4 separate regions of the Homo sapiens genome follow, and regions 2, 3 and 4 are each linked to region 1. Evidence: promoter capture Hi-C in human tissues and cell types (Jung and others, 2019). All regions are on one chromosome and are shown on one strand. Each heading gives the region's core, a stretch centred on a gene start or on the middle of the fragment in contact. The rest is flanking DNA. Distances are from core to core; before and after follow the strand shown. Region 1 holds the start of SCAF11 (SR-related CTD associated factor 11). Region 2 overlaps LOC105369743 (a long non-coding RNA gene). Region 3 has its middle 73 kb from the start of LINC00938. Region 4 has its middle 32 kb from the start of SLC38A1.

Region 1 (7,095 bases), core at 1,324-3,823:
TTGGGAATAGCAAGAGAATGATACTGGATATTTTAACTCTGGGCTCTACTCAGCACTACTAACAGTTATTACTGCTCAGAAGCAAGACAAGGTGCAAGGTTATTAACTTATTTTGGGGGACAGAGTATAATTAAAAATCTGGATTTTAAGTTTATTTCACTGGGCAAGGTAAGTCAAGGTACAATTTACATCTTAAAAGACAAAAGCAGGTGATAGCAGGGCTTGCTAAAGGGAAGTTACAATGAAAATTATTCTACAGTTGACTTTCTTTTTATTACTTTTATGCCTGCTACTCTCTTTAATTAAGGTGCTACAACTATCTCTGATATACTTTAAAAGTTCAGTATTAAGTTGATGGGTAGTATAGTACTGTATTTTCTGATTACTAAAAGATGTTACTGATGATGAATCAACAGTATCATGTAACTGCACTGATTCATCCTATCTCTGCTGAATAAAAGCACAGGTTTTCCAGAAAACTGTCTAAGCTCTAGTTGGTGCCAAAGGACGATAGAGAGCTAAGTAACTCCTGAAAAGTTTCGATCTTAACACACTAGCCCTATTACCACATGAAGGTATTAACAGAAAAAATTAAAAAATTATCCGTAAAATTTTCTCCATGACATGTTTTCTGGCAACATATTTAGAAACTTTAAATTTTCTTCTACAGTTTTCTTCCCCTTTATACTGAAGAATGTCTTTAAAGCATGAGTATACTTACAGTAAGCAAACATTCAAATTTTACCCCAGTGAAATCTTAAAATGTACTCAAACTCTCAGGCAAAAAGTTCACTATCTGAATGTGAAAAACTGAATGACTGTTAAAATATCTGCAAGCACCAAAAAATATTATAGCTAAAATGCAGCTACCCTAAGAACTGTTTTTAAAAAACTCACATTGCATAAAAAATATAAATTCAGATTATCCGATAGGATAATATAAAACAAAAGAAATCCAAAGACAGTTTCAAGATTTCATTTCTCTTGCTTAGTTAAAACAACAAAAACAAAAGGCCCATGAACTTTTTCTTGCATCTTTTAACCAAAATAGTGACATGATCAAGCCAACTGCCAAAGAAACAGGAAAGAGAAAGCAATTGTTTAGAAACAGACTTGATTACATGTCAAAATTTTAATACAATTACTAATAAAATACAAAAACCAACCGTTATTTTAAAATGTACTGCCCTGATATTCTGCTGCTGAGGTAGGTGGTGATATGTAGAAATTAATTTTTCTTTTAAAACGAAAAAATAATGCATTTATTAATATGCTTTTCCCAAAATTCGGGGAAAATTCCCAAATCGGAGAAAAAAATTTAACATCAGCATCTACTACACAAAGCATTAAAAACATTTTTCAGCAGTTTTGCTTAAGTATCTTAGGTCAGTGGTAGCATGTTAGCCAAAATGTAATCCAAAATGAATGAACAACAGTCAGCTGGTAGACACTGTATGTAATACAATACGGAAATATATTGGAAGTATTTCAAAATTCAACATTTGAATCCGTGAATGTCTAAATCAAGTACTCTAAATCAGGCGTCTACTTTTGAAACAATACTTCAAAATACGTGTTGGTGGCAAGACCGCCAGCCATCTGTAGGAAATCTTTTTAATGGTTCAAAATTCCTAGGTCTCAGAAGGGGCGACTGATTAGGCTAAATTTATATCTCCCGGCCCCGTAGTTGTCAGCCCAGGTAGCGAATTTAAAACACTGGGGGTGGATGAGTAGTTTGAAGTTCAGATCAAGGAGTGAAAAAGGCTGATGCTTAGAAGCGCCGGCTCTTCCCCATTCGCGCACTCGAGAGGTCACGGCGTAGTAAAGTTTGGTTTCACTAGCGGGCTTGGACGCTCGCGACCAAAGTCTCCCAAGAAAAGCCGACACCGCGGTCGGGAGCGCCCGGAAGCTCAGCAGGACACGTTTCCACTGCAGGGAGGAGGGTGTCTGTGGCGGTTCTGGCGTGGAGCCCCTTCCCCCCCCCCCGTAGGACCCTGCACCCGGACGGGGACAGGCTTCGCCAGCTAAGGCGGCGGGAGACGCGTAGGCCACAAGGAGGAAATGGGACAGAGTGCGACAGAGAGGCGGCGGCGGCCCAGGGCCGGGCCGAGCCTCCCTCGCGGGGCAGCGAGAGGGAAAGGGGCCCTCCCGGCCGCAGCCTCCCCCACTTCGAGAGGTAGCTCCAACTTTCCTCCCAGCGCACGACGTCGCACGGGCCGCGCGAGATTCCGAAACTTTGTCAGCCCTCGCGTCGCCCTAGGCCCGCTCCAGCGCTCTGCGCCGGCCGCTAACCCTCGTCTCTCCCAGACAGCTGCCCAAGCCCATCCACCCCGCGGGTCGACCAGTGTTTACCTCAGACCGAGGTCGAGGCGCTCGGTCCGGCCGCGGCCCCACAGTAGGTTCCCAGGTCCCAGTCACTCCGCTGCCAAGTTCCCCAACATGGACTCCTTCGTCCGCTTTGTGGTGTTACAGGGTCTCTAGGACACTGACTCCGCTGGCTCGGTCCGGAGGCGGCGGCGAAGCAGGGAGCGACCCAGGTTGCGCTGCTCCGCGCGGCTTAAGCCACCGCTACTCCCCCTTCCCCCGCCTTGTCTAGCCTCCTCCCTCCCCTCCCCTCCCTGCGCGTCTCCCTCCTCCTCCCTTCCCTCGCTGTCGGCGCGCTAAGGTGACGACGGCGGCAGCCGGACTCGCCACATTCTGCTTACTCGCTCGCTCTGGCCCTGAGTGCATGTTCGTAGTACCCAGTTGGGCCGCAGGGGGGCGCTGGCAAACTGCTGTTTGAGACCGAGAAGCGTGGTGGGTGGAGTCACGTCACGCGGCCTGTGAGCGGGAGGAAGGGCAGCTGCGCTGGAGGGGCCTTCTGGGAAACGTCCTTCCAGCACCGCCCTTCGCCCACACTGCGGATGGTGCGCATGCGCAGCGCGTGGACTTTGGCCTCTGCCCTCCTTTGGCAGTTTTACAGGCTGCGTCGCGGAGGACAATGAAAGAGGCTTTAAGGGAACTGGACAGGAAGGATTTTGCGCAGGGTGTGCTCCTTATCTTTATGGTAATCTGATATTGAAAAGAGTGTCCGCATGTTTGCGGTGGATTGAGTGTTCACCTGGCTGCGCTGCCCACCTGAAATGCAGCCTGTGGAGTGAAGAGTCGGCAATTTGGAAGCCCACCTTTCCTCCTTTCTGGTGGGCATTTTTTTAGATGCCAGGGGGAGAGCTTTCCCGCCTGACTCCCCGAGCCTAGGGGCTTTCCCATGTCTTAACCCCACATCACAAAATTAAATTTGGGCCAGGTGCGCGGTGGCTCACGCCGGTAATCCCAGCGCTTTGGGAGGCCGAGGCTGGCGGATCGCTTGAGCTCAGCAGTTCGAGACCAGCTTGAGCGACGTATTAAGATCTCGTTTCTACAAAAAATAAAATTAACCGGCCGTGGTGGCGCGCACCTGCGGTCCCAGCTCCTCGGGAAGATGAGGTGGGAGAATCGCTTGAACCCGGGAGGCGGAGGTTGCAGTGAGCCGAGATCGTTCCACTGCACTCCAGCCTGGGCGACAGAGCGAGACCCTGTCTCAAACAACAACAAAAACTTTATCATTATTTACTTAAAAGGCCTCCGCGTTGTGGTTAGATAGTGACGTGTGTGCCATCCTCCACTTTTTCCCCCGGCGGGTTGTTAAATGTTTTGTTTTACCTCGGAGGTATTTTGACTTTTTCAAAGTCACTGATTATTTAACCTCCTAGTTTCTCTTCTCGTCGACTGCAGCAAGCTTCCGGTTGCTCTGCCTGCCCTCAGTGTCCCCCATCTACCAGCTGACCTTCCAGTCCTCCCACCCACGCCCTTGTCCTGCTTGCGGCTCCCGCAGGACTAAGCTCTGCTCCCCGCGCGCGGCTCACCCAGGTCCCAGTCGCTTTCAGCCGCGCGCTCACACGTTTTCCTGTCGCCTGCCCCCGTTCTGTTCGCGCGTGCTGCGCTCTCCAGCCACCCTGACGCCTGCCCGGGATGAGTTTCCTCCCCACTTTGCCGCGGCCCCGCCGACCGACCGCTTCACTGCCGCCTTCCTGCATTCTCGCAGACTACGTTGCGGCGTCCCCTGCTCCCGCCCTGAGGACGTCGCTTTTCTGGCACTTTCATCCTATGCATTCTGTTGAGTCTGCTCACTGTCTCACACTGTGAGGATTGGGACAGTGTCTTATCACTTTCATAACAGCGTCTGGCACTTGCTGAAGGAACACATGAATGGCGGTCTTGTCGCTGTCAAAGTCTTTGGAGTTTTTCAGTGTACTGTTTTTGATATGGGGTTTGGGAATTTAGGTGGCTTTACTGTATTTGGGATATTTGAGGGGAAAATGAGCTAGAGGCGTTAAAATGCTTTCTTCTGATGGAACAACAAAATTCTTATGAAGGACCTTTCCCTGTCAAAATCAGAGCAAATAGTAAAGGATATATACTATTTGGATATAAAGAATGATTATAAAGGATGATTGTTAAGAGAAATAGTGAAAATTAGTGTGGAAAGCTATAACCAGATCAACATTTATGAGCCATCCAACAGAATAAGGGTGTAGCTTTTTTATGTATACAATCTCTAGGATTCACTCTAGAGAGTGTAACTCCTGATATGGACTCCTGGTGCAACATGCTTCTGTGTATGTTTTATATTTTAAAAAATCTATATATATTTAAAATCTAAATATATTTTTAAAAATCTCAGTTTTGTTTTAGGAAAGTGTTTTTTCTCAAAATTTAAGCCCAAATGATAAAATCTGCCAAATAGAAAACTATTTTAAATTGATAATAACAGTATAGTTTCATCAAAACTAAAAATACCAGATCTTTTGATGTATTTGTTTCCTAGCAGAGAATTAAGTTTTCACGTTCTTACTGTTGGCCTCCTAGATATCATGTGAGCATGTCTTAAGGAAAAATGCTCTTAATGCCACTGTGGTTTCTACCTTCATGTGCAAATAGAAGAGAGTGGTGGTTTGTAATAGGCCATTCTTTCCAGAGAAAAGTTCATGTGTATTTCTGTATATGCAGCATCCTCCTTATTATGTTTGGATGTAAAGATTTATTATTCTCTCTGATGTTTTCATATTTTTTAAATTTACAATATAATAAAGAGGTACAGAGTTCTAAATCAATAAAAGATGGGCTATAAAATGGAGGAGTAAAGTTGATATATGAACCATCATTGTCAACATTTTAGATTTGATTTTAACTGTAAAAAGCACAAATGATATGCATCATAAAACAGCCTTAAACTGAATGTCCACTTGGTGTGTTGCACTTTACCAGGCACTTAAAATATCAGTCCTGTCACATAGCAACAGAAACCCACAGTGGCACGTTTAAAAATGGGTAATCAACGTATTGATTTTGATGGAGCTTTTTCAGAAATAACTGCTATTTTAATTTAACTTATAAATAGAATACAATATCAAGTTCAAATTAAGGGAGGAAATCATGCTGTAAATATACTGGATTGAAAAACATGGTTCTGGCCAGGCATGGTGGCTCATGCTTGTAATTCCAGCACTTTGGGAGGCTGAGGTGGTTGGATCACTTAAGGTCAGGAGTTCGAGACCAGACTGGCCAACATGGTGAAACCCCATCTCTACTGAAAATACAAAAATTAGCCCGCATGGTGGCATGTGCCTGTAATCCCAGCTACTAGCTACTCAGGAGGCTGAGGCAGGAGAATCACTTGAACCTGGGAGGCGGAGGTTGCAGTGAGCCGAGATGGCGCTACTGCACTCCAGCCTGGGTGACAGAGTAAGACTCCATCTCAAAAAAAAAAAAAAAGAAAAAGAAAAAAAAGAAAAACATGGTTCTAATACTGTCACTTAACACCTTTTCAGTTTTGAATAAATCACCTAACTTTTTGGTCTTTAGTTTCTATAAGAGGACATTTTTATTTTAATGATCTCTGGCATTTTTATGGCAATAAAAATGTGTGAATTCAAAGGACATACTGTCTGAGCAACATAGTGAGACCTAGTTTCTACTAAAAATAAAATTAAAAAAATGACCAGCTGTGGTGGCGTGCACTGGAAGGATTGCTTGAGCCTGGGAGGTCAGGGATGCAGTGAGCTGTGATCACACCACCACACTCCAGCCTGGGTGACAGAGCGAGACCCTGTCTCAACAAAAAGGGGTGATGTAAATTTTAAAATTCATGTAAGGAAAACATGACCAAATATACAATATCCACGTGAGGAAAAAATAGTTTGCAGGAATTTTTTTAAAAACCAGTGGTGGCTGGGCATGGTGGCACACACCTGTAGTCCATCTACTTGGGAGGCTGAGGTGGGAGAATCGTTTGAGCCCAGGAGGTTGAGGCTGCAGTGAACCATGATCATGCCACCTCACTCCAGGCTGGGCAACAGACTAAGACCCTGTCGCCAATAATAATAATAAGAATAGTTATTTCATGTCACAACTATGAAGTATTTTAATCAGGATGATACTATCCAATTATTTTCCATGTGGAATTAAATTTATTTCAGCAACAATTAATTGGACATCTATTTGGGAGGTGCTTTGAGCTTGTATATAAATGAATACAGTGTCTCACAGACAGTATAGTGGTTTCAAATATGTACAAAGACAAAGTTGCATTCCTTGAAAGAAAATAGAAAACAAAAAACAAAGGAAGAATATAAATATAAAAAGAATATAAAATAATAAAAACAAAGCCTGGGGAGGGAGATGGAATAAAAGAAGGAGAGAATAGAAAGGAAACTGTGATGATTAATTTTAGATGTCAACTTGACTGGATTAGGAATACCTAGAGAACTGGTAAAACATTATTTTGGGGTATGTCAGTGAGGGTGTTTACAGAGGAGATTGGCATGTGAGTCTGAGTGGACTACAAGGGGAGGATCCGCCCTCAAAGTGGGCAGGCACTATCCAATCAGCTGGGAGCCTGGGTAGAACAAAAACAGTCTCTGTCTTCTGGAACTGGGATACACTCTTCTCCTGGCCGTGGACATCAAAATACCAAGCTCTCTGGCCTTTGGATTCTAGTGCTTAACACCAGCACCCCTGCCATCAGGTCTTCAGACTTGGACTGAACCACACTCCCAGCATACCAGCATCTCCAGC
Region 2 (7,095 bases), core at 3,069-5,568, 440 kb before region 1:
AATTGCCTGAGTAATAACAAGTTCAATAATTGATGAATAGAGCTGGGCAGGCAGCAGATGCCACTGGAGGGATGTGATGAGTAAAACCCAACAAAATGACAAAAATTTATCTTCCCAAAGTCATTCAGAAAATCTTAAAAAGTTAAGATCAAGAAAGCCACAGCTCTTATTTCACTTGATGGATCAAGTATTCATCAATATATTTTTATAATTGTATTTTATTTTTTGGTAGAAAAGTTATATTTAACAATTAACTATATTAATGATAAGGTATTAATGATGGTACTGATAACAAAAGTAATTATAATGCCTGATGTGCACAAAGCTTTGTGCGTACTCTCTTTAAAAAAAATTATTTTAAAAATTCTTCCAACAATCCAGTCAGTAGGTATTATTACCTCCATTTTTCTGTTAGAAAATTTAAGGAATAGAGAGGTTAGATGACTTAAACATGGTTAAGACCACAGACTGCGCAATCGGACTGACTGGGTTCAAGGCTCAATTCTACCATTTACTAGCTGTGTAACCTGGCAAGTTAATTTACCTCTCCGTTCCTTATTTCCTTGTGTGTAAATGAGAGTAATAATAGTACCTACTGCCTTTGGTTGTTGGGAGAGTTAAATGAGTTACTACGTGTAAAATGCTTAGAGCTGTGCTTGACAAATCGTTAGCATTTGATGTGTTTAATTAGCCATTATGTGACCCAAAGACACATATTTATTATTTTATATATGAATTACTTAATTACGATTGTACTTGTGTCAGGCACTGTCTTAGACCTAGCAAAGAAAAGATTGTATGGTTTATGGGAAAGGCAGACATTATGTAATTTTCGTAGGGTGTGATGAGTTTTGCGGTGGAGGCAGTAGGCACCATGCAGTATGCAGGGCAGTAGGCAGGGTAGGGGCCAGGCACGGGATGGTAAGACCAGGGCCCAGAGGAGAAGCCAGCTGTATTTGAAACAGCAGCAGCAAAAAAAAAAAAAAAAAAATGATTCTCATCAACAACTCTGAAGCTATTTCCAAGGCTTATGGATGAAGGAGACTCTAAAAATTTTAATACCTAGTCTTAACTCAGAAACTTTCTGAGCAAATCATTTGACCCCTGGATTTCCATTTCCAGATATATAAAATGCTGATTTCTTAGGGTTACTCTAGGAAAGAGTGAAGATTACTGTATGGGCTTCCATTGCTTGTGAAGAATCTACAAAGGCATGAAAACCTGGTGGTGCGATTATCGATGGGTAACTACCTAATTAACCACACATCTTTTCTTAGAAGAGATTATGTCAAAGGAGCACATATAGAGGAAAACCCTCAGGGACTTTCATTACAGAACCCCAGAGCCAGAAAATATCTTCGGGTTCATTGTTTGGTGGCTTCCAAAGTTTTCACTACTACAGACACCTTTCACTGGTCTTCTATCATGAACTTTATGGTTTTAGAGATTTGAGCTACCATGTTGCCTACATTAAGTAATTTTGTTTATCCATTTTGATTCAGTAGAGAGCATTTCATTTGTGCAAGATGCAGGTTTTAACATCCTGAGCTGATATAATCCAACCAAAATAAAATAAAAATCTCCCATCACACACTTATTGGAACAAATTAGGAATATATAGAAAGGAATAGCTTCATCACCACTGTCCAGATTTTGACATATTTCCTTTCAATCTTTATTTTAAGTGCTGTCTTTCTTAAAATACCTAAGATTGTACTGCATGTCCTTAAGGCAATGAAAATGGGCATTTCTTGATGTGGTGCTGGAGGGGTATTGGGTATCATTTACCCTTCCCAAGCCTGGGTTGTGCTATGTGACCCCCTTCCCACACCCTGAGACCCCAGACTACCCTGTCAATACGCTTCTAACACTTCCATACGGTACTCAATTAATCTGTTGCTATCTAACAGATTAAATAGCTTTGATTCCCCCTTTATACTGTAAAACTGTGTCTTATTCATCTTGGTGTCACCAGCACTTTGCAACCTATCTGACATGTTGTACAAAGTTGATACTTTTTATGCTGTACTGAAATATATATATACATATATACTGTTATATATAAAAGTGTGTGTGTGTGTATGTGTGTGTGTGTGTGTGTCTAGAAATCTTGTAACTCTACCACTGCCTTTGCATATCACAGGAGGCTTGGTTTGGTTCTCTTCTTTCAGATTAAAACACTGAATACCAACGTGGTTGATGGACAGAGGATTCCATATATAAGACTGAGTGATTGCCAGAAAGCAACAGAGGACAGAGGCTGGCATATTCTGGAATTCCATCACTTTAAGATAACCACTATTTATATTTTAGTGGTACAGTAATATCACAATACTCTTTTATCCTGAGCAATTTTTTAAAATGTAGACTTTTTAAAATCCTCCTCCTTCCCTCTGTCATTGAGCATTCCTCTTTTTTACCAGACATTCCTCTGCTTCATCCTAACTCCAACATAACCAGGGTTAGTGGCCAGTACATATCCTTTCATGACATTTTCCATGTTGTCAGAATCATAAACAAACATAAACAAACATGGAGTAGGGTTGTCATTTTCTGATTTTCAAAAATAGGCTCATGCTATATATATACTTCCCTAGATCTTGCTTTTTGCCCTTAACAATACATTGCAGAAATATGTCTGAGTCAGCTGGTTTTGATCTACCTCCTGTGAAGTGGGTCCCATGGTCAGATGCTATGCTGTATGGGATTCCACACCTGCAGATCAGGCATTTGGCAAGCTCCTGGGTGAGTTTTGGCTGAGGCTTTGCAGAAAGGAAAGGCAAACTAACACCGAGAATCAGTATCTGTCCTGTGAGGTCAAACCACTGGCCCTTCCAGGATGGACGTGACCCTTTGTAGCTGAGCTGCTACCAAGATGCTGGTGGTGTCCTTGAGAAACAGTGTCCATCCTTTTCCCCAGTCCTCTGACCAGCCAGCTGGGTCACTGGCCCCAGCCCAGATTTCTAAGAGCGACCCTAGCAGCAAGTTTGCCCCATCCCCTGGGGTCCTCGCCGGCGTTAAACCCCATGTACTGAGAAAGTTCCCTAAAGTCAGTGAATTCTTGCTTATCCAGTTGTATGTTCTGCCTCCTTGATTAAGCCTCATCAAAATTTATTCCCCAGTGTACCTCCCTGGCTCCTGCCAGTAAGTGCTATTTAATCTTTGAAGCTCCTTTGAGGTGTAATCTCTTTCCTCCCTTATCAGTCCTAGCACATTCCTAGCTCAACTCTGCTGGGAGTTAACCCTAGTTATCATAGAGGCATTCAGGAGAGGCAGTAGAGGCAGCTCCTTAGAGGAACACCTGTTGCTTTGTGGAGGAAGGCCACAGCAGTCTTCCCACATGAGGGAAGGGCTAGCTTTTCATCGAGAGGGTTGGGCTCAGAGTGTTGTGGGTTCAGAAGAGTCCACACAGCTACAGTCCTTGCAGGCAACCACCCAGATGTCCCCATCCCATATTTCAGGATCCTAAGCTTTCCCAACCAGAGCCCTGATCTTAACAGTACAGACCTGACTTGTTGAGAATTTACAGGTCTCTGGAGCTCCTGGATTCTAACTACTAAGTCCTACACTTGCTCCTCGGCTACATCCATGCTTCCACTGCAGGAGATTAGGGCCTCTTACTAAACTCCCAAAGAGGCCTTACAGAGGGGCTCTCCAGCTCCCACATTCAGCCTATAGATGTTCACTCATAGCCCTCAGCTTCTCATTATCTCCCTGCAGAGCATTAATACAACCTCTAAACATCAACTAACATCACTGCCAACATCACTGCATTTGTTCCTCCCCATTGCATTTAAAATATCTGAATCATCAAGGGCATTTCCATCTACCCAGGTCACCACTGGTTAAATTTTTAGCAATTGAACTGCACTTTATATCAGGGATTATCCATGTCTACATAATACGTGGCATATTAGGCAGAGTAGAATAATGCCCCTCCTTCCCCACAAGATGTCTCTGTCCTAGTCACCAGAACCTGTGAATATGTTTACTTACATGGCAAATGGGACTTTGCAGATGTGAATAAGCTAAGGGTCTTGAGATGGGAAGGCTATTCTGAACTGTCTGGGTGGGCCCAGTGTGATCACAAGAGTCCTTATAAGTGAAAAAGGGAGATAAAAGTCAGAGCTGGGAGAAATTTGAAGATGTATGCTACTGGCTTTGAAGAACGGTCTATAAACCAAGGAACGCTGGCCTCTAGAAGCTGGAAAGTGCAAGGAAACAGATTCTCCCTGAGAGCCTCCAGAGGGACACAGCCCTGCTGACATCTTGATTTTAGCCCAATGAGACCCATTTTGGACTTTTGTCTTCCAGAACTTTAAGATAATAAATACATGCTGTTTTAAGCCACTAATTTGTTACAGCAGCAATAGGAAACTAATACTCATGGGGTGGGGTGCTCCTTGCCACCAGCGAATTATCCAACCCCCAACCCATCCTACTGCCTTCGTCCTCAGACCACTCCTGGTACCAGTTGTGTGTCTGGGTCCTCTGAGAAGCAGTCACCAAGTTGGAATGCAACTGGCAAATGATTATTGGAGGAAATACTTATGAAGCATAAAATGAAAACAGACAGGAGTAAGCAGACAGAGTCTTCAGGTTGTGATGCAAGTCTGACAACTGGGAAAGGAGAGAGGGAAAGAAGGACTGGATAGGAGAAGGTAGCTCGGAGAAAGTCTCAGCCAGATCACTCAAGGTACCAGAATAAAGATTGTCCCGTCCAGACAGGGTGGTCTCAGCCTGAGTGCTGTGGCATGTGTAAATGTTTAATGGCTGGAGGCTGTCAACCAGATATAATTTGCACAGCAAGTTTTCTCGAAGGAGATCTGAGGAGCCCATCTCCGCAGTAGCCATACTAACCCACCTCCTACCCAGGCCCAGGCAGTGCTAATTAACCAGAGGCCCGCTACAGGGGCAGACCCATAGCCACTGAGCTTATTGGCCAAGAAAATATCAGCGTTCATGCTCTCTGCAGGTAAGTAGATCCCAGAAGTAGGAAAGGACAGGCTGAGCAACACATGTCTAAGTCCCGATCCTCAAATTTACCGATCAGATAATTCACTTAGGGAAATGAAGAGAAGTCAGGATTGTTCTCCAAACAGAGCTCTCTTTACATGGAAAAAAATGTTAGAAGAGGAAAATAATGTCCTATTCTATCAGATTATTGGAAAAAATTTTAGTAGATATTAGATATTGCCAGATTGCTTTCCAAAAAAGTTAAAGCATTTTACACATCCACCAGCAATGCTGAGAGGATCTTCTTCTCCTATGTCCATACAGCATTAGGCATTATCACTCTTTTTGATTTCTGCCATTCTGAATACTTCATTTTTATTTAACCTACATTTGCTTAACTACTGGGAAAATAGAACATTGCTATGATTTGAATGTGAGTCATAAAGTTCATATGTTGGAAACCTAATTTCCAATGCAACAGAGTTGTAAGGTGGAGCCTTTAGGAGGTGATTAGGTCATGAGGGCTCTGCCCTCATTGACGAATTAATGCCATTATCACAAGAGTGAGTTCCTAATCAAAGGGAAAATTCCACCCCCTTTTACTCTCTGTCTCTCTCTCTCCCCCTTTCTTTGCGATGCCTCCTTTTGCCACCGGAGGAAAGCCCTCACCAGGTGCTGGTGCCTTGATCTTGGATTTCTCAGCCTCCAGAACAGCAGAACTGTGAGAAATAAATTTCTTTTCTTTATAGGTTATCCAGTCTCTTTTATTGTGGTTAGAGCAGCACAAAACAGACTAAGACAAATATCTTTTTGTATGGCGTTTGCTTTCACAGTTGTATGACCTGTCCATCCACAAGCTTGGTTTACTGACTTGTTTGGGTTTCTTTTGTTAATGTGTTTGTAGAAGTTGTGTATATATTATAGATACTAACCTCTTATTTACTATATGCATTGCAAATATTTTTAAAACAGTTTTTGGCCCATTTTTTGATATCTATTATCAGACAAAACAAGCTCTCATAAAGTCAAATATCTTTTCTTTTATAGTTTTTGGATTCCCCATCTTTGTCTTCATGATCTCCCTGTCGCCACATTTTCAATATAGTCTCCTAAATTTTATTCTAAGATTTTAACTAACTTATTTGTTCATTTACTATTTCATTCAACTGAAATTTATTTTTGTAGTATTGTTTCTTGTTACAAAATAATACATGTTTCTTGTAGACAGTTTAGGAAACTTCAGATGCTGAACAAGAAAAAAATTTAAAATTAGTCTTAATTCCCCACCTTCTTAATATGGAGCCCCTGTGAATGTCTCCAGCTATATCCTTCCAGGCTTTTCTTCTATGCATTGTACATTGTCTTACATTTTTAAAATTATATTATAAATTCTGTTATATAGCCTGCTTTTGTCTAACAATACACTCAGAACAATTTTTCAAATGTACCCTCATTTGTTTAATCACACCTCTATTTTTGGACACTTACATTGTTTTTCACTTTTTGCTATGATAGATAATGTGTCATGATGCTGCCTCTCATTTGTTCGACTATATTTTGCCCTGTGTTAAAGAGCTCACTCATTTTCAAATATGTTTTTTCAATTTTACTAGCATCTAAAATTACTTGTTTAAAAATCGGGTAAGGAGAGGGAAAGAAGGTCCTTTTTTTTTTTTTTCTGGGTCACTGTATTGAGCTATACCTAAATTAAATAGGGGACTTGGAACTATTTTTACAAAAAACTAAGTCTGTAGAATGCAATTGATAGGCCTAGACATTATGTTTCTAAAACGCATCATCTAGAAAAAGTTCAGAATTGAAGAATTCTGAAGTTAAAAAACATAAGCAATAAACATAGCATGAGGAAAATCACCAGGCGGAAGTATCAGAAAATCCTAAAGCACCAGCAGTCAGATAAAGGATTAACAGGGTAACAATGCCAGTTCTCTTAATACCACCACCGCCTACACACCAAGAAGCCACTCCTAGTTCTTTTGGAAAGAGACAGATATAAATCAATAAATCATTCCATTTCAGGACTTTACTAGAATTTCAAGACAAATAACTGAGAGGCAGAAATACTAAGAATCTGGGAAGGAAGGAAAAAGAAACAAACAAACCATGAGTAAAGAGCCTATT
Region 3 (7,095 bases), core at 1,223-3,722, 340 kb before region 1:
GCTCTATTTATAACCCATATTCTATAACTCCCCAAGTAAGAAATTACATATCTAATACCTAAAAAAAGAAAGCTATTTTTCTAGATAAAATCAGTCTTACTGAAAATTTTACACAACTGATTTTCAAGCTTGCATTACTTGCGGCTTCTGGATTGTAAAATGCTGATCACATCATTTTATAACATTCAGCCACAGACAACTGTGTTTTGGACAGAGCACATTGTCACTGTAATTCCTTAATATAATATTATGAAATGAGAGCATAAGTATTTATTGATATCAAATTTTAACCCTCTGAGGATCATTCCAAAACAAGACTTTAGTTGTTTTAGAACAAAGAAGTATTAAAACATATTTATACATCATCTTGCAAGCTTATTGAAGATGAGCTTCAAAATACAACAGAAATATAATTAAGTAAAGCAATCAGGAGGAAAGGAAATGAACAGCCTCAGTGAGATTAGGATATAAAATATAAGCCCTAGGTTCTATGCTCTTTCTGAGGTTGCACATAAATTTGGCCTCAAATGCAGTTTGGCAAATTCCTATCAATTTGCAAGGGTTATATAAACATCAACACACTGACGTCTTTTATTTTATTTATTAATTTTTTTGAGACAGGAACTTGCTCTCCTGCTCTGTCATCCAGGTTGGAGTGCAGTGGTGCAAACACAGTTCTGGGCTCAAGCAATCCTCCTGCCTCAGCCTCCCAAGTAGCTGGGCTAATTTTTAAAAAGGTTTTTTGTCAAGACAAGGTCTCACTATGTTGCCCAGGCTGGTCTCAACCTCCTAAGCTCAAGCAATCCTCTTGTCTCAGTCCCAGAAAGTGCTGGGATTACGGGTGTGAGCCACTGCACCCAGCCACACTGAAGTCCTTATTAAACTCATAGTTTAATAATATCTTAGCTCATAGCTTATTCACAGCAATGGCATGGGGTGTAAATAAAAGGTCAGTAAGTCACAAATAATCACATATAATCCTAACATTTTCTTCTCACAAAATGTTGAAAATCTAGTTCTAGTCTGTAGTGAAATAGGCAAGTCTGAAGCTGACCTATACTTCCAAGTACAATTTTCATCTGAGAGGCTTAGACTTAGAACTTAGCAAGGAAGTTAATATGTATTTTGGATGGAATGTCTAGAAACCAACAGGTCAATAATTTTAGAGGAGGAGGAGAAGAAAGTTTCTCTCTTCTAAATGCAGAAAGGTCACAGTCTAATATCAACTAATGGAAGGAAACATATTCATAACTTTAGTAAGAGTAAATTTACATTGAGCTTATTTTTAAATTTTATTTTATTTTATTGATGTGTTTATTTATTTAGAGAGGGATTTTGCTATGTTGCCGAAGCTGTTCTTGAACTCCTGGGCTCAAGCGATCCTCCTACCTCAGCCTCTCAAGTAGTTGGGACTACCGGCACACACAACCATGCCTAGCAAGTCTATTTTTTAAAAGCAATTATACTATCTAGTTTTGTAATATTAACATTCCAGTTAAAACTTGACATGGGATCTACAAACTTTAGGGACATTAACCTTGGTTTGTAAACTTAAAAAAGTAAAGCACCCAGGTTGGGCGCTGTGGCTCACGCCTGTAATTTCAGCACTCTGGGAGGCCGAGGTCAGGAGTTTGAGACCAGCCTGGCCAACATGATGAAACCCCGTCTCTACTAAAAATACAAAACTTAGCACTACTTGAGAGGCTGAGGCAGGAGAATCGCTTGAACCTGGGAGGTGGAAGTTGCAGTGAGCTGAGAAAAAAAGAAAAGAGGAGAGGAGAGGAGAGAATAGGAGACGAAAGGGGAGGGAAGTGGAGGGGAGGGGAGAAAAGTGAAGCACTCAGAGGATGAATGAAATCTATACTTCCATAATTTTATTTATCAAATTCATACCTTGTATTACTGTGCCCCTGAATCTACATTAATTATTGGACAGTTAACCTAAATTCAGGTCCTTTTATATTTATTATACCTGAAAATTTTTTTCCCACATAGTAAGAAATTTATTGTATGATAAAAGCGTAGTTGGCCTCTTCTAATTTTCCTTCCTATGTTACCTTACCACGCTGGCCAGAGTTTTTATTTGCTGGCTGAGCATTCTTGCCAAACCAGGCAATAGAAAGGAGAATGCCACATTTGCAGGGCTACTGTGCAGTTTAAACCAGTTTTAAATCATTAGTCACCCAATAATAGAAGATGACAGAAGAAATTTCTCCCTCAAAGCACATGAGAAGGATTTTCTAAGGTTTTAAAAGTTTTCAGAAAGTAAAATGTCACCCATAGTTTTCAGTTCTTTGTTTCACGCTACTCTTCATCTTCTAACATCCCAGGTCTAATTATGAGTACAGATAGACTCTGCGGTGAAAACAATGAGGTGGAAATAATCGCTTTTCATGCAATCTAAAAGAGTCATGGTAATTAAGATACAGGAACAAAAACGAACCTAATCTATGATGCTAGTTTCTAAAAAAAAACATGAATAAACGTCCCCAAATTGATCCCATGTTCTCCCTTTCAGCTCCAACATATTCATTTCCTGGATAGATACGGGGAGAAATATTCTGTGTAGAAAAATGTATCTGTCTTTTTCAAATGCTTTCAGAAAGTGCTCTCCCACCCCCCAACAATTCCAGAGTAGGAAGAGTCCATTGACCATACCTCCAGTTGTGGTACTGAGGGCCCCAGAAGCAACTCAACCCTTTGTAAACTATGTAGAATAAGTAAAAATTGAAACAACATAAAAGAGTGCCACAGGCCCAATCAGACACTGTACCTTTTAACAGAGAATGTGTAAGTGTGAAGGCAAATCACAGTCATCTTGCCAGGAAAAGAAGTCACAACCAAAGAAATTCCTGACGGAGAATTCCCTGTATGGGAGGCTTGTTCGTGCTCTCCTGAGGTTGACAAGAAAAAGACTTCTAATCTACTCTTACCTTTGACCAAAGGGTTTTCTATGATAGACAAAGATAACTGTTGCAAATGCACAGGGAAAATGGAAAAATGAATATCATGGCATCTAGGTCTCTATTAGGCCTATGCTATTAAAAACCAACAGAAAATCCAATGCATAAGAGATCTCCTCTTCAGGACAGCAGCAGGCCATGTCCCAGGAGAACCTACTGTAAAGGAGCTCACTCCAGTGTGACGTCATGTGAAGGAGCCCACTGGGTCCAAGAGGATTCATCAGTTGTGCCAGTGGCTTCCAGTGCTGGCATTTGCTGGCTTAGAATCTCACGGCTGTCTTCCTCTGCTGGCCTTGCTTCTGACTTCAAAGTCATTCTACTTGAAAGAGATTCTGCCATTTTGCTCAGGCTCATATTTGGAATGTTAAAAGGTTGACCATTGTTGGGGAAAATGGTCCAGATGCCAAAATCAAAACTGAGTGCATAAATTATTGGGACAGATGGGTGGCCATCTGGAAAAAATACAGTTGGATTAAAACCTCACACATTTAACACGAAGCCAAACCCAATATGGTAAAACTTCTAATGTAGAAGAGTAGAACTGTAAAAGGAATAGAAAAACACAGGATAATTTTCTGTAATTCCAGGGTAGGGATGGTCTTTATGAAATAAAATCTGGATTATTTTAAAAAAGGTAAATTTAAGCATAAAGAAAAACAGCTGCATGAGAAAACATACAAAATGCAGATTAAAAAAGTAAAACAGGCCGGGTGCGGTGGCTCACGCCTGTAATCCCAGCACTTTGGGAGGCCAAGGCAGGCGGATCATGAGATCGGGAGATTGAGACCATCCTGGCCAACATGGTGAAATCCCATCTCTACTAAAAATACAAAAATTAGCCCTGCGTGGTGGCACGCGCCTGTAATCCCAGCTACTCAGGAGGCTGAGGCAGGAGAATCGCTTGAACCCGGGAGGCAGAGGTTGCAGTGAGCCAAGATCATGCCACTGCACTCCAGCCTAGTGACAGAGCACGACTCCATCTCAAAAAAAAAAAAAAAAGTAAAACCAAAAAAAATTTGTAGTCCATGTCAGAATAATTGTCTATATGTTATGATATATAATATATAGTGTCATATTTATATAAAAGTACATAATTTAGAGCTATGCATTTATAACACTATATATACATTTATCTTTATACACACACACACACACACACACACACCTCAAACTTGCAAACCAACTAGTCTGTATAAGTTACTTACAGTTAGTGAATTAATCAGCCAGATAAGTTTTTCTTGCGTATAGTCAGAGAAATGGTCTATATTCTCCAATGCATGTATATTGTATTAATTAACGTGGTTCATGCTGTTGTGAAGCTGCAGCTGTTGAGACTGTGTAGAGCTGAGCGCTGTCCAGAAGGAGGAGCACAGGTTGCCCTGAAGCTGATGCTCTTGTCTGCACTGTTGCCATGGAGCCCGTGCATATACGCTTACTACCAGTGTGGAGCAATCATTTCCTATTCCATTCAGTACCTTTTTATATCTTGTGATTTTGATTGATGTGAATGTATTATGTATTATCTATTCAAAAGATTAAATAGATTTTAAAGATTAATTTTTTAAAATTAGTGTGAAAGTTCTGGCTCAAGATGAGTGAATGAGCATACATTTTCCAACTCTCTCATGACCTGATTCAATTTCAGGAATAATGTGAAATGGAATAAATCCATGGAATAAAGCGTGCCTTCAGCAGGTAAGAAATTATGTTTTTCTAGAAGTTGGAATGCAAATGGGCTCAAATGGTCAGAGAAAACAAAGAGAAGAAATCATGATTCCAAATGCTCATAGAATAAAACTACAGAGGAGGTAGGAGACATTCTTCCAGAGTAGGCTTCTAGAGAATCCAAGTTCACAGTCAGCAGGTACAAAGATCAAGATGTTTGGGCTGAACGGCAAAAATTTTGAGGAACCACTAAGCTCCTCAACTTCCTCTCATATGAGCAGAGAGCAGCCAGTTGAGCATTTTCATTTCTACTGGGTATGGCTGTTGGGACTGGAGAAAAAGTAGAAAAGAGCCTAAAGTGGACCGCCAAAACAAAAATCAAGAGAACATAGCATGTGTGCTGAATCTAGAGGCTCTAGAACACTGATTGACTGAGCTAGAATCAGCTCATCCCCAAGAGTCAAGCCCTCCTTGCTGATTGGCAATTGCCTCCCTGTCTATGAACTATAAGAGATGCCTGCATCCACTGGAACTACCCTCTTGCCCAAAGAACTCTGCTTGTCAGGGAAGAAGGTTGTTGGGTAATCAGATCTATACAACTGTAAAGCAAGCTCAGCTGCCCACCTATACTAATTAACATGGTCCTTTTGAGGAAAACTAATAACAAAAAGAAAAAGATCAATATCAATATCAATAAGCAACAAACAATTAATTCAGAAGAAAGAGATGATGCAAGGAATAGAAAAAAAACCTTTGTAAATTAAAGATAGTATTCTCAAGGAGATTTAGGAAGATATTGCAAGATTAGAACAAAAATAGGCTGCTATTAAAAGATCAATAAGAAAATAAGTGGCACAGTCAGTCACATCTGTAATCTCAGCACTTTGGAAGGCCAAGGCAAGAGGATTGCTTGAGTCCAGGAGCTTGAGACCAGTCTGGGCAACATAGCAAGAACCCCATCTCTACAAAAAATTTGAAAATTAGCCAGGTGTGGTAAAACTTACCTGTCGTCCCAGCTACTCAGGAGGTTAAGGTGGAAGGATCGCTTGAGCCCAGAGGTTTAGGTTGCAGTAGCCGTGATTGTGCCACTGCACTCCAACCTGGGTGATGCAGTGAGACCCTGTCTTAAAAAAAAAAAAAGAAAAGAAGAGGCCTCAAAATATGATTGTTAAAAGAAAAAAATAGAACAGCTAAATTATAGAATTAACAGAATGAGCCAGTATGGTGGCAAGCACCTATAGTCCCAGCTAGTCAGGAGGTTGAGGTGGGAGGATTGCCTGAGCTCAGGAGTTTGAGGTTGCAGTGAGCTGTGATCACACCCCTGCACTCCAGCTCCAGCCTGGGTGATAGAGTGAGACTCTGTCTCAAAACAAACAAAAAGAACATAATAAACAAGGTTAAAGCTCAAATTAGTGATCTTGTAAATAAAGTTGTAACCAGATGAAATGACTTGCACCTGTAATCCCAGCTACTTGGGAGGCTGAGGCAGGAGGATCACATGAGAATTCCTGTCCTCAAGTCATCCTCTGGCCTCAGCCTGTGCGATATGCTGACAGCCCATCTCTCTAAAAAAAAAAAAAAAAAAAGAATAAAGAAAGAAAACAAAGTTATGAAAATGTTAGATATTACTATAAAAGAAAGCACAAATAATATAATGGAGACTGTACATATATTAATAGAATAAAATGTCCCTGGGAGAAAAGCTAGAATCCTCAAAATGAAAGAGTTCTCTGAGCATTAATGAATATAAAAGGAAAACACTACACCTAGACATATCCTGGTGAAATTTTAGAACTTTGAGTATAAAGAGAAAATGCTGCTTGGGTATGGTGCCTCACGCCTGAATCCCAGCATTTTGTGAGGCCAAGGCAGGAGGATTGCTTGAGCTCAGGAGCTTGAGACCAGCCTGAGCAACATAGTAAGACCTCATATCTACTAAAAACAAAAATTAAAAAATTAGCTGGGCATGGTGGTGCATTCCTGTAGTCCCAGCTATTCAGGAGGCTGAGGTGGGAGGATCGCTTGAGAGATGGCAGCTGTAGTGGGCTATGATCACGCCACTGCACTCCAGCCTGGGTGACAGAGCGAGACCCTGTCGCCTAAAAATAAAATAAAGTAAAAAAGAGAAAATGCTAAAATATCTCAGAATGGTTAAAACATTTAAAAGCAGACTACCCACAAAGGAAATAGAATTAAGCATCTGAAGAGCAACACATGAGTTTCCACAAAACTTAAGAGAAAATGATTTCAAATCTAGAATCTTATACTCAGATTAACTATTAGTTAAAGGTGAGGGAAAATCATGGCATTTTCAGGTTTATAGTAATGGCTAATATTTAATGAACTCTTACTATGAGCCAGTTGTATCTCCATGCTCGTTGCAATTATTAACTTATTTATTTTATACTCAGAACAGCCCAGCTAGTTCGGTACTATTATTATCACTGGTTTTACAAATGAAAAACCA
Region 4 (7,095 bases), core at 1,281-3,780, 310 kb after region 1:
GAAGGCTGAGGCATGAGAATAGGTTGAACCCGGGAGGCGGAGGTTGCAGTGAGCCGATTAGGCCACTGTGCTCCAGCCTGGGCAACAGAGCGAGACTCTGTCTAAAAAAAAAAAAGAAGGAGAAAGAGATTTACTTATGGGGTTGAACCTCTCAAGAAGCTTGCAAAGTCCCTGAAAAGACTAGACTTACCAGTGGCAACGCAGGTGTCAGCTGAATAAGTGGCCAGATCTTGAAACCATCATAGAAAGACAGCAATCCAAGCTGGGATGCTGGAATTTTCTTCATAATATATTCCTCCATATGATAATTTCCTATAATCACTTCCTGATAAATAGTCTTTCAGCTCCTTGGACTGGAAATAAACAGTTATTTCATGAGATGACACATACTCCAGATATTTGAGGTAGCTTCTCATGTATTCTCTCTGCAATGCCCTTCCCCTCTCCTTCCCTGCCAATCTGTCTTTTTTCCGTCTTCCTCAGCCTAAGTACCTCTAGTCTCCTCAACTATTTTCTATATGTGTGTGGACGATGTGTCCCATGCTTTAAATTTTCAAATATATGATCTGTGCTCACTTTGGCTATTCTATTGTCAGATCATTGGTCCCAGATTTTGTTTGAAGATGTTTCTCTGGACCATCACCTTACTTCCAAAAATCTCTAATTCTAACTCCTGATCTTGTTCTTTTCCTCCCGCTTCATCCCATTACAACTTCCTAAATTCTTTGCACGTTTACCTATAAAAAGTTCTGACGTCTAGAGGCCTTTAAACATTATTCTAAAGCGCTAGTGGACATGGAATGCAGGAGTGACCAGAAAGTGCTAGGAGACAGTGCAGATAATAAATCCTATGTGACGGAGAGGTGCATGAGAGGCGTGCAGAATTTGGATCTAAAGTTAATATAAAAGATGAAAAGTACATCCAGTCAAATTTATTCCTGAAATCCCTTAAAACTTTGGGTCTTTCTATTCCTTGACAAATATTTGTCATTTGTAGGTTACTTTTGCTTTTTATCTCTTTATTAGTTAGTGTTTTTCTATGGTTCTCGATTAGAGTTTTTCCATTTTTTCCTTGAGAATGTCTCCTCAACCCTTGCTACTCAAGAATCAACAGCATCAGCATCATCATCACCTGAGACTTTATCAGATATGCAGAACATCAGGCTCCACTCTAGGCCTGCAGAATCAGAATCTGCATTTTGAGCAGTTCCCTAAGCGATTTTAACCAGTTCCCTAAGTGATTTTAGCCAGTTCCCTAAGTGATTTTAGCCAGTTCCCTAAGTGATTGCTTTGCACACTGAAGTCTGAGAAGCTTTAAACCATCACTGCCAGCTTGGCCACCTCAGCCATCTAAACTATGCTTCTCTGTCAGTGGCTGGAAAAATCTTAAAATCACAATGTCTTGTTCCAAAATTTCACCAACATATACCAATCATTTTATCTTTGACCACATGCATTGATTCTTTTTAAAAAGGTATCCATAGTTAAATTAGGGACCTTCAATGTGAGTGAAGTACTCCAAGAAGTACAAGAACAGAGTATTTCACTGCACTTCTAGAAGAAGGTGAAGATTTAAATCTTTTCTTATGATAGAAAATGGTAATAAGGAAAGGAAGGAGCATGAGCAAAATAAAAAGGAACCTCAGGACTGGAGCTGAGAAGGCAGAGAGATAGATTTGGAATGGCTACGTTGTGTTGCAGTGAGAATGAGTTAACAGACACTAACCCAATATCTGTGATTGGAAAACTGAAGTAAGGTGTGTGAGAGTGGTGTGTGCAGTTAATAGAATATCTTAGGGACATTTGAGCAAAGAAATCATGTGACTAAAATGGATGTTGCAGTTTTTTAATGAAATTGTAAAAGATGGATTGTAATTTTTTTCAAGTCTGTTTTCCCATCTGTAAAACGGAGCATAATATCTAGTGGACAGAATGTTGTAAGGAATAAAAATAAAACATGTATTGAGCTTAGGCACACAGGAGGCAAACAGCTGGCAACAGAGGTCACTATAGTTATTCTTGTGTGTGAGTTGAGAGCCTAAAAGCAGAGAAAACATTGAGGGAGCTCCTCCAGTAGTAAGAACAATAGCAATATTGGTCAAGTGCTCACTGTGCTGGGCACTATTTTAATAGTGCATTACAGAAAGTAACACGTACTCCTCACAACAGTCCTATGAAGTAGGTACCATCATCCCCATCTGTCAAATTGGAGGCTAAGGGACAGAGAGGATAAATTATTTGCATAAGTTGCCACAGACAGAATTCAAAAGCTCAGCATGACTTCAAACCCCACATTCTCTATCACCATGTTATTCCACTGCAAGTGTTCCAATGAAGACAAGGAGGAGATGAGTGGTGGGAGAAGTAGAAAAAAAAATGGAAGAACAAAAACTCATCAGTGAGAAGGAGATGACAATGTGTGAGCAAACAGCTCTGGATGAATAGAAAGAGTCAAAAATAACTGAGCTGATAAGTAGGGCCAGGAGGAGAATGGCACTATCACCAGAGGTGGAGGTTTGTTTTGTGTTTGGCTTAATGTCCTTGAAATGTTTAAGATTTGATCAAAATCTCTTTTGTTCATTTTGGAGCTATAAAGCTTATTTTGAAAAATAGGATTGCTTTTGCTTTGTGAACAAAGAACACTTAGCACCCATCATTCACCTGAAGCTTGTGTGTCCAGTGATTAGTTCTGTACATAGGTAAGCATTTCTTTCAAGTAGCACATATTTAAAGAGCATAAGTGCCTTTTTTTCACACCCCATTTAATTTACACTGGTTTTACCTTCCTGCACAGATGGCCTGCTTTTCCTTTTCCTGTGCTTAATTCTCACTGAAGCCAGAGAGTGTTAAATGCCCATGAGGATACAGTGGAGTTAAGGAATACAGGAAGAGGAGTCAGATGGTGCTAATATTACAACAAAACTGTAGGGGGAATGGTTTCTAAAGTTATGATATTATGCATAACACATTAAAAATGTAATTTTGCAGCTTAGTTAATAAAATGGGAAGATCCAAGTAATGTTAACTGAAAATAAATTAGGAAACTGGTATATGCAGTATGATTCTCAAATGGCAGAATTTAAAAGTGCATGTAAATGTATGTTTTTGAAAAATACATATAATCACATAGTTTTTAAAGGTCAGGATTCTTAAAAATATGTATATTATTAGAGGCTATTTCTGGGTGAAAGCACTTACGGTGATTTTATGTTCTTTAAACTCATTTTCATTTTTGCATTTTTCTACATGAGGCATTAATTTTATAATCAGAAGAAAATTATACTTTTAAAAAAGAGGAGTGGCATTTAGAGTTTGTTTTCCCTGTTAGGTGTTTTAAGTCTGAATTAAAGCTACTGTTTTGGCCAGGCGTGGTGGCTCACTCCTGTAATGCCAGCACTTCGGGAGGCCAAGGCAGGTGGATCACGAGGTCAGGAGATCGAGACCATCCTAACATGGTGAAACCCCATCTCTACTAAAAATACAAAAAATTAGCTGGGCATGGTGGCAAGCACCTGTAGTCTCAGCTACTCAGGAGGCTGAGGCAGAGAATCGCTTGAACCCTGGAGGCAGAGGTGGAAGTGAGCCAAGATCGCACCATTGCACTCCAGCCTTGGCAACAAGAGTGAAACTCTGTCTCAAAAAAAAAAAAAGCTGCAGTTTCTGCTGAGATTTTACCCAGTGGGGGCAATATTTGTCCCCCAAATTTCTGCAGTTGCATTTATGTTTGTGAGAGCCTTAAGTGCGGGGAAGAAGTCAGGTGCCGCCTCTTTCACCAGCTGTTAGTTGTTTAACAACAGTAAGTAGAAGTGTTCTTCCTATTAAGTGGGAAAGGGAAGCCGGCCTGCAGGGACAGGCAGAAGTGGGGGGTGATAAAGAGGAATCTTCAAAAGGGCCTTCCTCTTCAGCATTTTTCAGTGATGATTATTTGAGAGATTTGAACAGCTGCATCCTGCAGCTGTGTTTCCAGCTGTGCTAAGTGGGGTTGAGCAAAGCACCCCAGTGGCTTTTTTCTGGGACATGTAGACTAGCCAGTAAATACAGTAAATATGGTAGAGCTGGGACTTCATTGAGCCTTGAGGGAATTAGCTTTCTGGACAACTTTCAGAAAGTTGAAGTTCTAACTTTCAGGCATTGGAAAGATCAAGTGAGCCAATGTACATAAAATAAAAACCTACACAGCACTATATTGATGAGTTTCTGTGAGATTATCAATATTTCTCCCCTTAAGCTCTAAAGCTTCAATGCTTAATCACCATTACTTTCACATATGTTGTGGAAAACATTTTTAATTGCTTAGCATATTTTTAAAATGTGAAAACATTACAATGACCATGATGAATGTTTTAGAGCAAGGAAAGAATGATTCATCATTTGAGAACCCAAAAATTTTCATTTTGGCCTTAAAATATTTAAGCTTATAAGAATAAACTATATTACAAAAAAATTTTGAAAAAATTAGCATCCCATTACCCTAAAACAACTGTCATCAATCCTGTGTATTCATTTCCAAGATTTTTTCTAAAGGCAACATCTGTCAAGTTTAAATTGTAGTGGATATAATAATTTTGTAATCTAATTCCTTTTTGCTTTTCCGTTTAGTATCATATTAGATAGGAGACAGTTTAGGATAGTGGTTAAACTCCCAGGCTCTGGAGTCAGCTATGAGCTTCTATAAGGAGTTCTCTTTTCATCAAGTGGAAAAGGAGACTAGCTAGATAGGAAGAGGGAAGCGAGCATGAAGGAAGAACCTTTAAGGGAGCCTTAAATAGGCTGGGAGCGGTGGCTTATGCCTGTAATCCTGTAATCCCAGCACTTTGGAAGGCTGAGGAGGGAGGATCACACGGTCAGGAGCTCAAGATCAGCCTGGCCAACATGGTGAGACCCCGTCTCTACTAAAAAAACACAAAAATTAGCCAGGCATGGTGGCATGCACCTGTAATCCCAGCTACTCAGGAGGCTGAGGCAGGAGAATTGCTTGAACCCGGGAGGCAGAGGTTGCAGTGAGCCAAGATTATGCCACTGCACTCTAGCCTGGGCGACAGAGCAAGACTCTGTCTCAAAAACAAACAAACAAACAAAAAAAAAACAGCAACAACAAAACGAGAGAGCCTTAAACCCTGCTTCCTAGGGTTATTGTGAGACAGAAAGGAAGTAATATCCATACATATCTAATATACAGCTTGGAACATAGTAAGCATTTAATAAATGGTAGCTATTGTACCATGCATATATTGTAACATAGACTTTATGTAAATTATTTTAATATCAACATAGAATTCCATTGGATAAAGGTAGTATAATATCTTTAATCTATTATTGGCTTTTAATTCTCTTTCTTTCTTTCTTTCTTTTTTTTTGAGACAGAGTCTCGCTCTGTCGCCCAGGCTGGAGTGCAGTGGCGCAATCTTGGCTCACTGCAAGCTCCGCCTCCCGGGTTCACGCCATTCTCCTGCCTCAGCCTCCTGAGTAGCTGGGACTACAGGCGCCCACCACCACGCCCAGCTAATTTTTTTGTATTTTTAGTAGAGACGGGGTTTCACCGTGTTAGGCAGGATGGTCTCGATCTCCTGACCTCGTGATCTGCCCGCCTCGGCCTCCCAAAGTGCTGGGATTACAGGCTTAAGCCACTGCACCCAGCCAATTTTCTTATAATTTTTAACATTATAAATAATGCAGGACATATCTGTCCCCACATTTTAGATGATCTTTTGAGACCACATATAGGTTAACAGAATTACTACGTCAGCAAACATTTTTTAGAATTTTTGATACATTTTACTATATTGCTTTCCAAATACGTTCCAATATCATCATCAATATTTGAAAGCAACAGTTTTACTGTACCATTGCCAGGATTGAATATGAAAGTTAATTTGTGTGTGTGCATGTGTGCATGCATGTACACACATGCCTGTGTTTGTGTATGCTTACTAATTTGGTGGGAAGCTAATGATGATGTAAGATTATTTTTTGCTAAGCCAGAGCAAAGTCTCTGATAGGCTGGCCTGTGGAACTAGGAAGTACTGCCCCCTAGAGGTCATCTGCATGATCCTGGCTGACTGACTTCCTAACTGTGTTAGAAAGTTCCAGAAATTTAACTCCCTTGGAATGTTGTCGCTAGATGTTCAGTTTTATCTCTCAACTTACAGTGATCCGGAAACTCAGGGTAAATGAACTAAATAGAATACAGCTCGCAAATGGGGCTTACGATGTGTAGAAAGTTTTAATGTAAAAGAGAGAACCTCCCCCCAAAACAAAAATCATTAAACTTCAGGAAGAGGCAATTGAGCCTTTAAGGAAAAATCATCTTAGTATAAAGATATATATTGCACAGAGTGGTTCAGGCTTAACTGCAGAGTCTGGGCTGCTGGAAAGAGTTGGTGTTCTGCGGGTTTAGAAAGAGAAGATGGTGATTAAGGAGTAGAGGAAGGAGAAGAACTGTATCATGTGTGGCACATCTCTGCTGTGGTTACCTTTCTCTGAAATGGCTGGTCTCCAACTAGGAAAAGCAGATGTCTCTAACCAGCTGCAAAGTGAGAAAAGATCTAGAGTGAATAGGACAGGCAGGGGTCTGTGGGTAGTAGAGCAGTAGCCCTCGGTGGAGCAGGGATGGCTCCAACAGCAGACACTGAGGCAGGGAGAGCATTGCTCTAGGCACCACTAAGTATATGTGAGGCAGTGGGCCTGCTCATTAAAGCTTACTTTCCTCCTTCTGAATTGCTACTTCTGATCTACTATAGGCTTGGATACCAGATACTTAATCTTGTCAGAATTGTGTGTAAAATAACAATAAAAGTTCCCTGAAAGGAGGATTCTGGGAAAATGGCAGAATAGGAAGCACCAGAAGTGTGTCTCCCCACCTACACAACAATCACAATGGCAGAATCTGGCTAATGTAACTATTTTGGAACTCCGGAGTATCTTCAATGCTTGCAACTTCCAGGGAAAGGCTCAGAAAGTAAATTACAGTTTCTTTTGGTCCATTTCAGTTCTTGGCACAGTAACAACTACCTCAACCCTCTGGCAGGCAGCTGTACACATGTTCCTGGAGCAGATTGCACACAGCTTGAGGGAGCTAGAGAGGGCAAAAAGGAC

Evidence for each region. Contacts are between HindIII fragments. The study calls those that stand out against the background at their distance.
Region 2: a fragment that was not itself captured here is called in contact with the fragment with the promoter of SCAF11 in region 1 in 1 of the 25 tissues and cell types used here (spleen).
Region 3: a contact is called between a fragment that was not itself captured here and the fragment with the promoter of SCAF11 in region 1, in 1 of the 25 tissues and cell types used here (spleen).
Region 4: a fragment that was not itself captured here is called in contact with the fragment with the promoter of SCAF11 in region 1 in 1 of the 25 tissues and cell types used here (aorta).

The regions. Positions count from the first base shown.
Region 1 is chr12:45,988,001-45,995,095 of GRCh38, forward strand. SCAF11 (SR-related CTD associated factor 11) reads right to left here and starts at 2,574. Exons shown (of 15, transcript NM_004719.3): 1 at 2,353-2,574. RefSeq lists silencers at 1,648-1,717, 2,118-2,217, 2,558-2,607 and enhancers at 1,868-1,917, 2,278-2,487, 2,296-3,009, 2,728-2,927, 2,938-3,007 and 1 more. The HindIII fragment of the contact is 22,524 bases long and covers 2-7,095 here.
Region 2 is chr12:45,544,075-45,551,169 of GRCh38, forward strand. The region is part of intron 1 of LOC105369743 (a long non-coding RNA gene); the gene reads right to left. Among named protein-coding and RNA genes, the nearest start is that of LINC00938, 180 kb to the right of the region's middle. RefSeq lists an enhancer at 1-66. The HindIII fragment of the contact is 4,842 bases long and covers 1,898-6,739 here.
Region 3 is chr12:45,651,062-45,658,156 of GRCh38, forward strand. No RefSeq gene overlaps it. Among named protein-coding and RNA genes, the nearest start is that of LINC00938, 73 kb to the right of the region's middle. RefSeq lists a silencer at 4,320-4,409. The HindIII fragment of the contact is 6,928 bases long and covers 1-5,936 here.
Region 4 is chr12:46,297,220-46,304,314 of GRCh38, forward strand. No RefSeq gene overlaps it. Among named protein-coding and RNA genes, the nearest start is that of SLC38A1, 32 kb to the left of the region's middle. The HindIII fragment of the contact is 3,590 bases long and covers 736-4,325 here.